Linked DNA regions of Homo sapiens: region 1 is linked to region 2. The links are contacts of gene promoters, found by promoter capture Hi-C in human tissues and cell types (Jung and others, 2019). All regions are on one chromosome and are shown on one strand. Each heading gives the region's core, a stretch centred on a gene start or on the middle of the fragment in contact. The rest is flanking DNA. Distances are from core to core; before and after follow the strand shown.

What was found. Contacts are between HindIII fragments. The study calls those that stand out against the background at their distance.
Region 1: a fragment that was not itself captured here is called in contact with the fragment with the promoter of ZFP64 in region 2 in 1 of the 25 tissues and cell types used here (hippocampus).

Annotation. Positions count from the first base shown.
Region 1 is chr20:50,917,311-50,924,373 of GRCh38, forward strand. All of the region lies in intron 2 of ADNP (activity dependent neuroprotector homeobox), which reads right to left. Among named protein-coding and RNA genes, the nearest start is that of ADNP-AS1, 10 kb to the right of the region's middle. The HindIII fragment of the contact is 7,393 bases long and covers 2,004-7,063 here.
Region 2 is chr20:52,187,022-52,193,417 of GRCh38, forward strand. It overlaps ZFP64 (ZFP64 zinc finger protein), which reads right to left and starts at 4,758. Exons shown (of 6, transcript NM_018197.3): 1 at 4,570-4,758; 2 at 1-50. The coding sequence starts at 4,615. RefSeq lists enhancers at 1-16, 3,613-4,469, 5,510-5,639 and silencers at 4,230-4,469, 4,830-5,099. The HindIII fragment of the contact is 31,514 bases long and covers 1-6,396 here.

The sequences.
Region 1 (7,063 bases), core at 4,450-6,949, 1.3 Mb before region 2:
TCAAGTCAGTCAGATGATTCCATCACATCCAGAGAAGAATTCAGCTCTAAGGACACTTGTCTTAAATCACTCTTACCATCACCATGGAGGCCAAGAGTCACTAGATAGTCACATTTGAAGAATCTCTTTCTATGCAAATCATAATGGTAATATCTTGTAAAATGAAAACCACAACCTTGGTATTCTTAAATAACAGGCCAGCTTTTCAAAAAACAGATGTATCCTATGTCTCCCCTTTATTATCTTCCCATTGTGAATACTCTAAGCATGTTCTTCTGAAAGTCCCTTGGGAAACTAGACGCTTCCTTTTTTTCAAAGGAGGGAGTTGGTAGGAGCCTGGTCTGTTCTCAACTACCTCCAGGCTCCAGTCAAACTGGGAGAACAGTAAAAGTCCAAAAAGTTACATAAGCAATTGGGAAGCGGGAACACAGGACCACACATAAACTCGTGTATCAATATTCTCAGCAGTATTATTCATAATACCCCCAAAATAGGAACAACTGAAATCAACTGATGATAAATGAAATGTGGTCATATCCACATAATGGGATATGATTGAACCATGAAAAAGAATAAAGTACCGACACATGTTCCAACATGAACCTTGAAAACATTATACTAAATGAATAAAATCAATCACAAAAGGCCAAATATTGTATGATTCCACTCATGAGGTACTTAGAATAAACAAATTCATAGCAACAGAAAAGTAAAATGGTGGTTGCCAGGGGCTGGGTAAAGGAAGAAAAGAGGAGTTATTGTTTAACAGGTATAGAGTTTCAGTTCTGCAAGATTAAAAAAGGCTAAAATGGTAAAGTTTATGTATACTTTACAACAATTAAAAATAAACACATTCTTTTTTTTTAAAGTGGCTACTGGGAAATTTAAGGCAGCAGTATTGATTAGGGAAGGAGACAAAGTCTGCTTATAATTTCAACAGCAGGGTGGTCTGGGTTCAAAATCAGGGGCATTTATCACTGATGGATCTCTTTACCAAAATGTGAATCTTAAGCATTTGTTAATATTACCCAGAAAAGGAGAGAACCTCTAGAACAAACCGTGGATGTAACACAGCATTTTGAAGGTCTATACAAATTTCCAGACCATTTTTGACACTATAATCATTTAATATGAGTGGTAATACATTAATGGAACCTAGGTGGCCCCAAAACCTTTAAGTACTTAAAGAAAAAAAAATGGTAGAGTGTTCACGTTATTGGCAAATCTGCTCCACTCCAAGAGGCCAGGAACAGGATATTATATTACTTTTGGCAATGAAGGCCCTGATTCACTCTGCCTTAACTAATAGATTTAGTACAGCTGGGTTACTTCAGTGAGACGTTCAACTACCTTGTTTTGCAAACTTGAGCATGTGGCAGTAGAGAAAAGATCTTCAGAGAATTCCCATGTGTTAAAATTTCAAATTACCTTCAGTTTCCGCTACAAAAGTAGAAGAACAAGAGGAGAGGTCCTGGGAAAAATGAAATGGAAAGCTTTTGAAAGGTAACAGAATGATGAAAAATTTAATTTTAGCACTTTAAGGAAGTTTTGTTTTCTCTCATGCTGGTGTAGTTCATTTATAGCAAACCAACAATCTAATGGTAAATAAACAGCCTGGTTCATCACATTACCTACCAATTATACAAAAATTATAATCACACTGTGACTTAAAAGTTTTATTTATTTTAAAAGTTCATCACAGGTGATTTCAGAGATTTAGTACAATATCACCTGAAATAGTTAACAGACACGGCTGGCATTTATGTCTACAAATTATTATCATTACATATTATCTTTCAGCACGTTCATTTTCCTGACCTCAATTGATGGACTAAACAGAACTCTTAAAATATGCAGCAGGACAAGGGTGCCATCTCACAGGTGTAGCTCACAGCTCCCAGCACTTTGGAAGGCTGAGGTGGGAGGATTGCTTGAGCCCAAGAGTTCAAGACCAGCCTGAAAAAATACATATATTTAAGTGTATATATATATATATATATATATATGTAAAAAGCCAGGTGTGATGGTGCATGCCTATAGTCCCAGCTACTTGGGAGGCTGAGGTGGGAGAATGGCTTGAGTTGCAGTGAGCTATGATGGTGCCACTATACTCCAGCCTGCGTTACAAAGGGAGACCCTGGAACTTTGGTTTTTTTCCCTGCTGTATCTCTATCATCTATGTCAATGACTAGAACAAAGCAGGCACTCAATAAATTCAGACAGAATGAATGAATCTCTGCCTAGAAAAGGCTTACAGATATGACATCCAATAAATATTTGCAGTAAAAGAGGCGATGTATCAGATGTGTCACAAACTAAATCCTAGGAGGCTTCATGTTTAGTTCATTCTCAGCAGGGAGGGTGGCAACAGCTGCTGAGTTGGGGCCATTAACTTAGGTGAAGAATCTGCATTTACTGCAAAAGACTTCTGGCGCAGTTCCAGAGGCCGGAAAGCAAGGTGTTCTAGGAACTTCTTGCTCAACTCCACTGAGTCAGAATGGTTGCTATGTCAAGCTTCTGAGTAACAAGGAACGACATGATTGGAAAGGCAGGGTGAGGATAGGATGGGGATCTTGAATGTGAAGCTGGAGTCTGCTGCCATGTCTGGTAGGCACCGAGGAGATGCTGCAGGTAACGAAGTACAGAAGGGACATGATTCTAATGGCACTTTAAGAGGATTAATCCAGGCCGGGTGTGGTGGCTCATGCCTGAAATCCCAGCACTTTGGGAGGCCAAGATGGGCAGATCACGAAGTCAGGAGCTCGAGACCAGCCTGGCGAATATGGTGAAACCCCATCTCTACTAAAAATACAAAAATTAGCCGGGCGTGGTGGTGTGCGCCTGTAATCCCAGCTACTCAGGACGCTGAGGCAGAAAAATTGCTTGAATCCGGGAGGCGGAGGTTGCAGTCACTGCACTCCAGCCTGGGCAACAGAGCGAGATTCCACCTCCAAAAAAAAAAAAAAAAAAAAAAGAAAGAAAGAAAGAAAAAGAAAGCAGTGGCTCATGCCTGCAATCCCAGCACTTTGGGAGGCCAAGGCAGACAGATCACTTGAGGTCAGGAGTTTGAGACAAGCCTGACCAACATGGTGAAACCCATCTCTACTAAAAATACAAACATGAGCTCGGTGTGGTGGCCAGCGCCTGTAATCCCAGCTACTCGGGAGGCTGAGGCAGGAGAATTTCTTGCGCCCAGGAGGCAGAGGTTGAGATCGCGCCACTGCACTCCAGCCTGGACTCCATTAAAAAAAAAAAAAAAGCCTGGAGGAAGTCAATTAAGTAAAAGAGTAGATACCAGACCTACCCAACCCTCAGAATTACCTGAGGGACCTTACACCCATGCCACATCTTCTCAATCTAAGAGGTCTGAGAAACCATCACTGCCTTAGGTATGAGATAATAGGATACTGGGGTAAGAGTAAAACGAGGGGAAAAGAAAAGGTTCACAGGTGAAGCTTATAGCCTAAGTCAAAATTTGTGCTAATAATACTATTTTCCTGGACAAAAACTTACCTATCAGCCATATGTAAAAAATTTGTACCTTATAACTTCAAACCTCCTTAACAAGAGGTAGGGTGACATAGCACAGTAAAGCTTTTCTTTGCTAGAAAATAAAGATGCAGTGGTCCACCCTACAGTTAGACAGATCTGTATTTAAATCCTTGCTCTGCCACTTACAAGCTTTGTGATCCTACACATGTTATTTAACCTCTAGAGGTCTGTTTTCTTATGGCATAAGCAGAAGGACACTATCTCATTGTTTTAATGGCAGAAGGATTAAATGAGATGATGCAAGTTAATGCTTAAGTCAGTTACCATTATCACCTTAAACCAGATGAGATACTAAAATAATCACTTTCAAAATTCTGAGTTCACACCAGGGCATAACCTCTCCAAAAAGCTCAAACTATTATGACTGAGAATCAGATGTGGTTGCCATAACAACATCTGTTCCTGTACACATTACAATGCATCATGCACAGTAGTGTTTTTATACAATATTTTACATCTGTGTGAGCCATTCATACTCAGGTTTGCATATTCTTAACAAGCTCAGTGACACTTAAAATATTTAGGCAACTGAACATCTGCAACTATCTTAAATAAACCCAGGTGACTTACAGTTATGTAGAAACATAAAGGTGTCATCTAGATTTTGCGTATCTTAAGTTTTAAAAAATATGTGGAGTCACTGGTCTTTTAGGAAGATTTTCAGACTACAAGACTGGTGCCCACAACTGGAAAACTGCTACTGTGTTGCTGCTTATCCTGATACTTTCCGTATTCAGATTTCAGGCAAGAATTCTAGCAGTGACCACCAGAATTTCCAGTACACCAGTAGAACCAGTTGTTTTCAGGCTGAACTCCTCTAAGAGTTTAAGATATGTATACAAACAGAGGGAAGATGATGCCTGAGGGACAAGGTGAAAGCTGGGCAGCCAGAGGTCTGGCCCCCCGACCCTTCATCAATTTAAGAGTTCACCTAAAATTGTATTTGAAAGCGGGGGAAGATGCCTCGGTACTTAAACAAGAAAAACAGACTGAGGATACTTTATAATATACCAATTTAGATTTAGGGAGAGTGTGAGGTGAGGAGCACTTCCCAGTTTACTTCACTCTAAACAGGTATTGCAGCAAGGCAGGGACACAGCATAAAGAGTGATTCTAGCACTCCACTGCCTACATAAGAACTCCACAGGCATACAGCCACTTGCTGTCGCTGTAAGTGGACAATCTGGCTTAAGATCAATGTGAAAAAGGGAAATAATTCACAAGTAGCCCTTAAGGGGTGCTTTAGGGGAAAACTCTCAAACTTTGTTTTTCCTCTGCCCTCACACCACACAGAAGTCGTGAAGTTGTCTTCTGTGACCAAACGTGTAGGGTTTTTTCCCAAGCAGCGGACACCAGCTGAGTATCCTCTAATTTGGTTCTGACACTGTCTACCTGGATACAGTGTCATATTCCACAAGATGGGGGCTCAGTCCCCAAAACTGCTCTCTCCTTCTTCAGACTCCAACTGTAAGTCTGGGCCTCCAGAACTTCTGACTGACACTTCAAGCTGGGGTTCCCAAGACCCCCTCCTTGAGTTCTATTAATTTGCTGGAGCATCTCACAAAACTTGGGGAAACACTTATGTTTACCGGTTTATTATAAAAAGTACAGATAAAGAAATGCGTAAGGGCACTGGGCTTCCATACCCTCTCTGGGGGCGCCACCCTCCAGGTGTGTTCAACTATCTGGAAGCTCTCTGAACCCAGTCCTCCTGCGTTTTTTTTTTTTTTTTTTAAAGACAGAATCTCACTCTGTCCCCCAGGCTGGAGTGCAGTGGTGCAATCTCGCCTCACTGTAACCTCTGCCTCCCGGGTTTGAGCAATTCTCCAGCCTCAGCCTCCTGAGTAGCTGGGATTATAGGCCCCCACCACTAAACCCAGCTAATTTTTTTTGTATTTTTAGTAGAGATGGGGTTTCACCACGATGGCCAGGCTGGTCTCAAACTCCTAAACTTGTGATTTGCTCGCCCCCAGCCTCCCAAAATGCTGGGATTACAGGCGTGAGCCACCGCGCCTGGCCCTCCTGGGTTTTTATAAAAGCTTCATATAGGAAACCTTACTTCCCTTCCCCGGGGTATAGGGCCAACACCCTCTCTCTAGAGAGGATCTCAAGACCTACAATCAGAAAGCTGGGTAAAGATCAGAATCTTGCCTTGGGACACGTGTAAGGAGAGCAGGAGAAGATCAGAGATTATTTTCTGAGACCTAACGTACCCTATATTATAACAAAACACGGTAATGGGGTTATGGGTGTTATGAGCCAGGAACCGTGGTGGATGAAAACCAGTATGTATCACAACACCACAAGAGGACACGCAGATATGTCCATTTATAAATTATTTCAGAAGCATGCCAAGTCTTTGTATCTAAATGACATAAAACGTTATTTTGATCCCCTAATAATACATTTTTATGCTCTACCGAAACTACTCAGAAATAATTTCCCACAATAGGAAATATATTTCTTTCACTATTCTTGAGTAACAGAATATTTAAACTATGTTCTCAAGTTTTTCGAAGCCATTTCCCAGGATCAAGGCTTCACCGAAGGTAGCTTTTCAAAAGCGTTCTTGTACCAGGTTTTGCCACTTGATGGCTCAAGTTTTCACACTTTCCTCAGAGAAGTTTTATTTGCATTTTTTTTGGTTGCTGTTTTTTATTTTTATTTTTTTTTGAGACTGAGTCTCACTCTGTCACCCAGGCTAGAGTGCAGTGGTGCCATCTTGGCTCACTGCAACCTCCGCCTCCCAGGTTCAAGTGATTCTCCTGCCTCAGCCTCCCAAGTAGCTGAGACTACATGTGAGTGCCACCACACCAGGATAACTTTTGTATTTTTAGTAGAGATGGGGTTTCACCATGTTGGCCAGGCTGGTCTTGAACTCCTGACCTCAGGTGACCCGCCAGCCTTGGCTTCCCAAAGTGCTGGGATTACAGATGTAAGCCACCGCACCCATCCTCTTGTTGCTGTTTTTAAGTGTAACTGATCTTGAAGCAGGATTCTGAGCACTTCTTGCATTTGGATACTCCCAGTCTCAGCTCACTTCTTTCACAAGAGCAAGGATTCTGTCAACCTAAATTTATAATTCGAATTGAAAATTTTAATAAATTCCACCATATTTCCACTAGACAGGAGTTTCTCAAAAGAGACCACTCAAAAGGTTCTCAGGTCATGAGCTTCCACCAGAAGAGCAGAGCTTTACAGATTGTCAACTGAAGCACAGGTTTCCACAAGCTCTTAAATGGAGCATGAAGGATTCAGAAAAAGAAAGGGTAAAAGCCAGCAATTATCTAAGAAAAAAGTAACTGCTCAGGACAGACTGACTGTCTTAAACTAAAAAACTGGGAAAAGAAAAGGGAACATAAACAACGTTTCTTTTTAGATTCTTATACAGTTAACTTCCCAGCAGAAATATGCTACTCCAATTAACTGCCACCTGCACAATTTACACCCATACTCTCCCTGCTGGGGGTGTGGCTAGCTTCTTTACATGTAGACGCCATTGGAATCCTTG
Region 2 (6,396 bases), core at 3,508-6,007:
GATATGGATGTCGGGAGTCAGCTCCACCAGCACCGTTGTGCCACCTGGAACTCCATGGGACAAAGGGAAAGTAACGGATTAATTCCAAACAGCTTTGAATTGTAATGCAGACCAGATTCATGGTAGGAAGAAAAGGCATGGTGGCAGACATGGCTGGGTAGTGGCCCAGTATCCACTCCACCTTCCTCTTCCTGCGAACTGCATCCTAATTGTGCCCTAGCAGCAAGGTATCATATTTCCACACAGAGATTTCTTGCCTTAGTTAAACTTGGGGAAAATTGGACATAATGTAAATATCTTAGAAATCTTCAGAAAATTGGCCAGGCGCGGTGGCTCATGCCTGTAATCCTGGCACTTTGGGAGGCTGAGGCGGGCGGATCACCTGAGGTCAGGAGTTCGAGACCAGCCTGGCCAACATGGTGAAATCCCGTCTCTACTAAAAATACAAAAATTAGCTGGGCATGGTGGTGTGTGCCTATAATCCTAGCTACTCAGGAGGCTGAGGCAGGAGAATCACTTGAACCCAGCAGGCAGAGGTTGCAGTGAGCTGAGATCACACCATTGCACTCCAGCCTGGGGGACAAGAGTGAAACTCTGTCTCAAAAAAAAAATAATTTTTTTTTTCAGAAAATTATGATGCATAATTTTATCCAACCACATATGCACAAAGGTAGTCTTGTATTATTTAACTTGGGGAAAATTGGAAATAATGTATAGCAACCATCCATGTGATGGTTCACGCTGCATTGTTACCCATGGGGCACTAGTGGCATTGTTTGCAAGAAAGTTCTTTTATCAAAGATAAAAGGGATGTCCTGCACTTTGCAGAACCAGCAGCCACCTCCTATCCCAACTAAAAGGTAATTGTGAAAACTGATCCTCCCGCACATTTCCAAACATACTCACCCAAAACACATACTATGAGAACCAATAGTCTAAATAATCTTGGTCCTCTACATACTTGTGAACTTCTCCAGCACACAGCTGGAGGAGTTTCTGGGAAAAGTTTGGCATTTGTGATGAAAAGGGAGCAGATGTGGCTAGCAATGTGCCCCTTTTCTTCTGGCTTTGGATGCAAATGTGATGGTGGGGCTTCTGCAGCCATCTTGTAACTATGAGAAAAATGCCAAGATCCCTATGGGCTCTGCCCTTTACTTCACTGATTTCCCTGATTCAACACTGCAATCAATCAATTCCAGATTTCATTAGGCCAGTATAATTTGGGTTTCTGCTACTTGTAGCCAAAATTCATTCCTAACTGGCAGGGACATTATTTCTTTTTCTTTCTTTTTTTTTTTTTTTTTTTTTTTTGAGACAGAGTCTTGCTCTGTCACCCAGGTTGGAGTGCAGTGGTGCGATCTCGGCTCACTGCAAGCTCTGCCTCCCGGGTTCACGCCATTCTCCTGCCCCAGCCTCCCAAGTAGCTGGGACTACAGGCACCCGCCACTACGCTCGACTAATTTTTTGTATTTTTAGTAGAGATGAGGTCTCACCTGTTAGCCAGGATGGTCTCGATCTCCTGACCTCGTGATCTGCCCGCCTCAGCCTCCCAAATCCCTCCCTGGGATTACAGGAGTGAGCCACCGCACCCGGCCGACATTATTTCTTGATACTAATCATATCAAGAATTAATACTATATTAATACCTGGAAAGCACTTAGTGTAGTATTTGGCACTGTATTAGAAGCTACTATATAAATACTTGTTCAATAAAGACATAGCGGGTAGATCATGAGGTCAGGAGAGCGAGACCATCCTGGCTAACATGGTGAAACCCCATCTCTACTAAAAATAAACAAAAAAAATTAGCCCGGCGTGGTGGCACACACCTGTAATCCCAGCTACTAGAGAGGCTGAGGCAAGAGAATTGCTTGAACCCGGAAGGCGCAGGTTGCAGTGAGCTGAGATTGTGCCACTGCACTCCAGCCTGGGCGACAGAGCGAGACTCCGTCTCACATAAAAAAAAAAAGATAACTCGTGTTTATAAGAAAATTTAGAAGAAACTTATAAAGAAGGGGAAAATCACTCAATATTTCCATCTCTGCCTACCATGAATATTATAAAATATTTTTTTCCATTCATTTTCTTTACACTTAAAAGTTGCGTAAGATGGCTCACGCCTGTAACCCAGCACTTTGGGAAGCCGAGATGGGTGGATCACAACAAGAGATCAAGACTATCCTGGCGAACATGGTGAAACCCCGTCTCTACTAAAAATACAAAAATTAGCTGGGTGTGGTGGCACGTGCCAGTAATCCCAGCTACTCAGAAGGCTGAGGCAGGAGAATTGCTTGAACCTGGGACGTGGAGGTTGCAGTGAGCCAAGATCATGCCACTGAACTTCCAGCCTGGTGACAGCGAGACTTCATCTCAAAAAAAAAAAAAATTGCATAAGATCATAATATTGTAAATATTCAGATCATAGTATTGTAAAACTAATCCTTTTCCTAATTTTTTTCCTTTTTTTTTTTGAGATGGAGTTTTGCTCTTGTTGCCCAGGCTGGAGTGCAAGGGCACGATCTCAGCTCACTGCAACCTCCGCCTCCTAGGTTCAAGCGATTCTCCTGCCTCAGCCTCCGGAGTATCTGGGATTACAAGCGCCACCACCACGCCAGGCTAATTTTGAATTTTTAGTAGAAATGGGGTTTCTTCATGTTGGTCAGGCTGGTCTTGAACTCCCGACCTCATGTGATCCGCCCGCCTCAGCCTCCCAAAGTGCTAGGATTACAGGCGTGAGCCACCGTGCCTGGCCCTTTTTCCTAAACATTGCATAAACATTGTGCTATATCATTAAAATCTCTTCATATATATATGATTATTTAATGGCAATACATTATTCCATGGTGTCCATGCGTCATAATCTTCTCAGCAACAATAAGGTATTTACATAATTTCCAATTTTTCCCAAGTTAAATGATACAAGACTACCTTTGTGCATATATGGTTAGATAAAATTATGCCTCATAATTTTCTGAAAATTTGTAAGATATTTACATTATGTCCAATTTTCCCCAGGTCTAGCTAAGACAAGAAATCTCTGTTCAGAAATACAGTTTGGTTGACTTGCTAAGGAGACTGGGCTGAGCACTGTGATAAGCCATCTTGCAGGGATACACTTAAGCACTTTGCAATCAATGGATGGAAGGAAGGAAACCTTTTCTTCTCTGGCAGATACTGAGATACCCATGGAACTAACAAGGAAACAAGGAAGTGAGACATGAAGTAGCTTGCATTGCTGACGATTCCTTAATGATGGAATAGGACTGACACCCAGAATGAAAGGATTTTCATAACAGATAATGTCACTGGTATGTGGAAAGTGCAAAAGTAACGACATAGACCTTCGTTAGAATCTTGACACTGTCGCTTAACAACAGTGACTTTAAGCGTGGGTTTTCTCATCTGAAAAATGGGAGGAGAGGTTTCTAATCCATGGTTTTTGTTTGTTTTTAATTTCTCCAAGAAAAAACACGGGCTTGTTATGAGAATTAAATGGGATGGTGCTCGTACCAGCACAGTCCCCCCTCCCCGCCAGTCCCCCAGCATGTTACCTGCTGGGTTCTTACTGAGGTACACTATTTAAACATGGACATATCTGAGCCCCACCTAGGAGATACTGAGTCATAACAGGGTGGGGTGGGGAGGATGGTGTTTAGGAAAATCTGTGCTTTTCACAGTAATGCAAGGAATACACCGCCAAGTTTGGGACCCAGTGTCTCCCAAACTGTTAACAGTAGCAGCTAACAAGCTGGGAGCTTACTATGTGCCAGATTTTCTGCAAACCCCTGGTAGATGGGTTCTCAAACTTCATGTGCTTCAGAGTTGCCCAGGCAGCTACGAAGGACAGCGGATCCCCAGCCCCACCCCCGAGATTGAATGGGTGGGGCCCAGAAAGCTGTTTTAAAATACACGCTCTCGCTCCCAGGTGGCTGGTTGCACTCAGTCTCTGGACCACACTTTGGGAAACAATGCACCGGGAGAAACCAGGGACTTGAAAAACGCTGATGTCCTCCTCGGTTAAATAAAAACTGAACCCCAAACCCAAATAAAGCGACCACGGCCCCGTTTTCCATTCAGATCTCCACCCTTAATGAGGAAAAGGCTTTGCAATGAGCCGGCAGGACCTCGTGAGACCTGGTGATTCCCCCAATCTCCAGGCTCTAATTTTGAGCCACTGAGGCAGAAGTTTTCCCATCAGTGTTGCCCCGTTTACCCTAGATTCCTCCCTTTCTCCTGCCCGCCCCAAACTCCGCCTGATGGGGCGGGAATGCCCTTAGGGGGTGGCGATTGTCTGAACGGCGTGCCCTCCCCCACTGTTCCCTTCCAAGGGGTCTCGCAAGGCTGGAGAGCGCCCCCGGTCTTGCGCCAGGTCGGGTGCGCCCCCACCCCAAGCCCACTCCGGCGCCCCCTGCACAGCGCGCCCGCCGCGGTCCCCGAGACGCGGCTCCGAGCCGTCACCCCGATTTCGGGGCCCCGGGCCTGCTGGCTGCGTCGCAGACGTGCTTGGGCCCGGGCCCCGGAGCGCGCACTGGGCCCCGGAGCGCGCACTGCTCCCGGAAAAGCACTTACTTTGCACCGAGCCCGCGAAGCTCTCGCCCTCGCTGCTCGCGTTCATGGCCGCAGACTGGGAGGTCCCCGGCCGGCCGGGATGCCAAAGTGGGGGACGCTGATCTACATGGTGCAAGGACTTTTCCTTTTATTTTTCCACACCCCCCACCCTGCCTTCTCCCAACTCTGCGAGGCGGGGAGGACGGATGTAAAGCAAGCTGCACTTCCGCTGCCTAGAGGGCGCTGGCCGGGCCCGGCGCCCCAACCTGGCTTTGCAGCAGCGGCTCCCCGGGGAAGCGGCGGGCGAATCCCGAGGCCCAGGCCCGCGGAGCCCCCCAACGCCCCCGGGGAGCTGGATGGCCACGCGCGTCCCGGCGTGCTGGGCGACCGCGGGTGGCGAGGGATGCGCCCCTGCCCGCACTCTGCGTTCTCCGCGGACGCGATTGGCCTCCCCGGCTCGGGGCGCCTTTTGCACCTGCAACCCCAGGCGTTGGGCCCCCAGCGCGGCCGTGCAGCAGCGCTGCTCCCGGGACGCCTGGGTGGTTTGCGGGGAGACCCACGTGCGGCTGCCGTTGCGGGGTGGGTGCGCGGGGCGCGGCGAGCTCCGGAGAAACCCAGGTTGGGCGTGAGCGCTGGGCAAATCAGCAAAGCGCTGGGCGGGTCCCTTGCCCCGCTAGGGAGACTGAGAGGACCGCGAAGAGGTGGGGTCGTAGCGCGGAGGGACCCCTGCTCCAGGAGCTGCCAACTTTATCGTGCATCGCAGTCGCCTGAAAGGCTTGTTAGAACACACGCTGTTGGGCCCACCCTAGCGTTTCTGCTTCAGTAGGTCTGGGGCGAGGCGTGAGAACGAGCATTTCTAAGTTCCCAGGTGATGCCCCTAGTGTTGGTCGGCGTCCACACTCTGAGGACAGTGACCTCTCTGCTCTGTCCCTCATGTCTTACTACTACTGTCTCCCCCGGGCTCCTGCGTCAGCCCTATTGTCTCTCTGCCGACCCTCCCAAGCCTCAGACCTCTCCCAGCCTCGAGGGATTTGCCCATAGAGTCTGTCCTGCTTCTGAAGGTCAGCATTCAAATTCACACTCAGGGAGGCCATGCTTGGCCTAATCTAATCATTCTAATATTGCAGCCCCCTCCTCCTCCCCCAACCACTCCCTGTCTCCTTCCTGTTTTTTTCTTTTTCTTTTTCTTTTCTTTTCTTTTCTTTTCTTTTCTTTTCTTTTCTTTTCTTTTCTTTTCTTTTCTTTTCTTTCTTTCTCTCTCTCTGCCTCTCTCTCTTTCTCCCTTTCTTTTTTTAGAGAGGGGGTCTTTCTCTGTCTCTCAGGCTGGAAGAGTGGTCGGATCCTAGCTCATTGCAGCCTCCAACTCCTGGGCTCAAGCAATCCCCCCTACAGGCGTGGGCCACCACCCTGGCTCACTTTTTAATTTTTATTTTTGTAGAGATGTTGCCCAGGCTGGTCTCGAATTCCTGGCCTCAAGCGATCCTCCATCAGCCTCCCAAAGTGCTGGGGTTACAGGTGTAAGCCACCATGCCTGGCCTGCTTTGTCCTTAAAAGGTGTTAGATGGAACATATTATGTATCTCGAGTATATCTGCTTAGATATAATTTAGTTGTATATTATCTGTGTTCTCCTCCCCCTTATTTTCAGTAAGTCCCTGTAAAAATGGGGATTAAAAAAATCTCTTTGCTTCACTGATGTAGTCCAGTGACTTGGCTGGTGCCTGACACATAGTAGGCTTAGTAAATATGGCTTGTATAATGAATGGGATTTTCCCTGCTGCTGCCTCTAAGGCTTGGTTTCTGCCTGCAGCAGCTGTTTATTCTCAAGTGTTTGTGAAGTGCCAGGCAC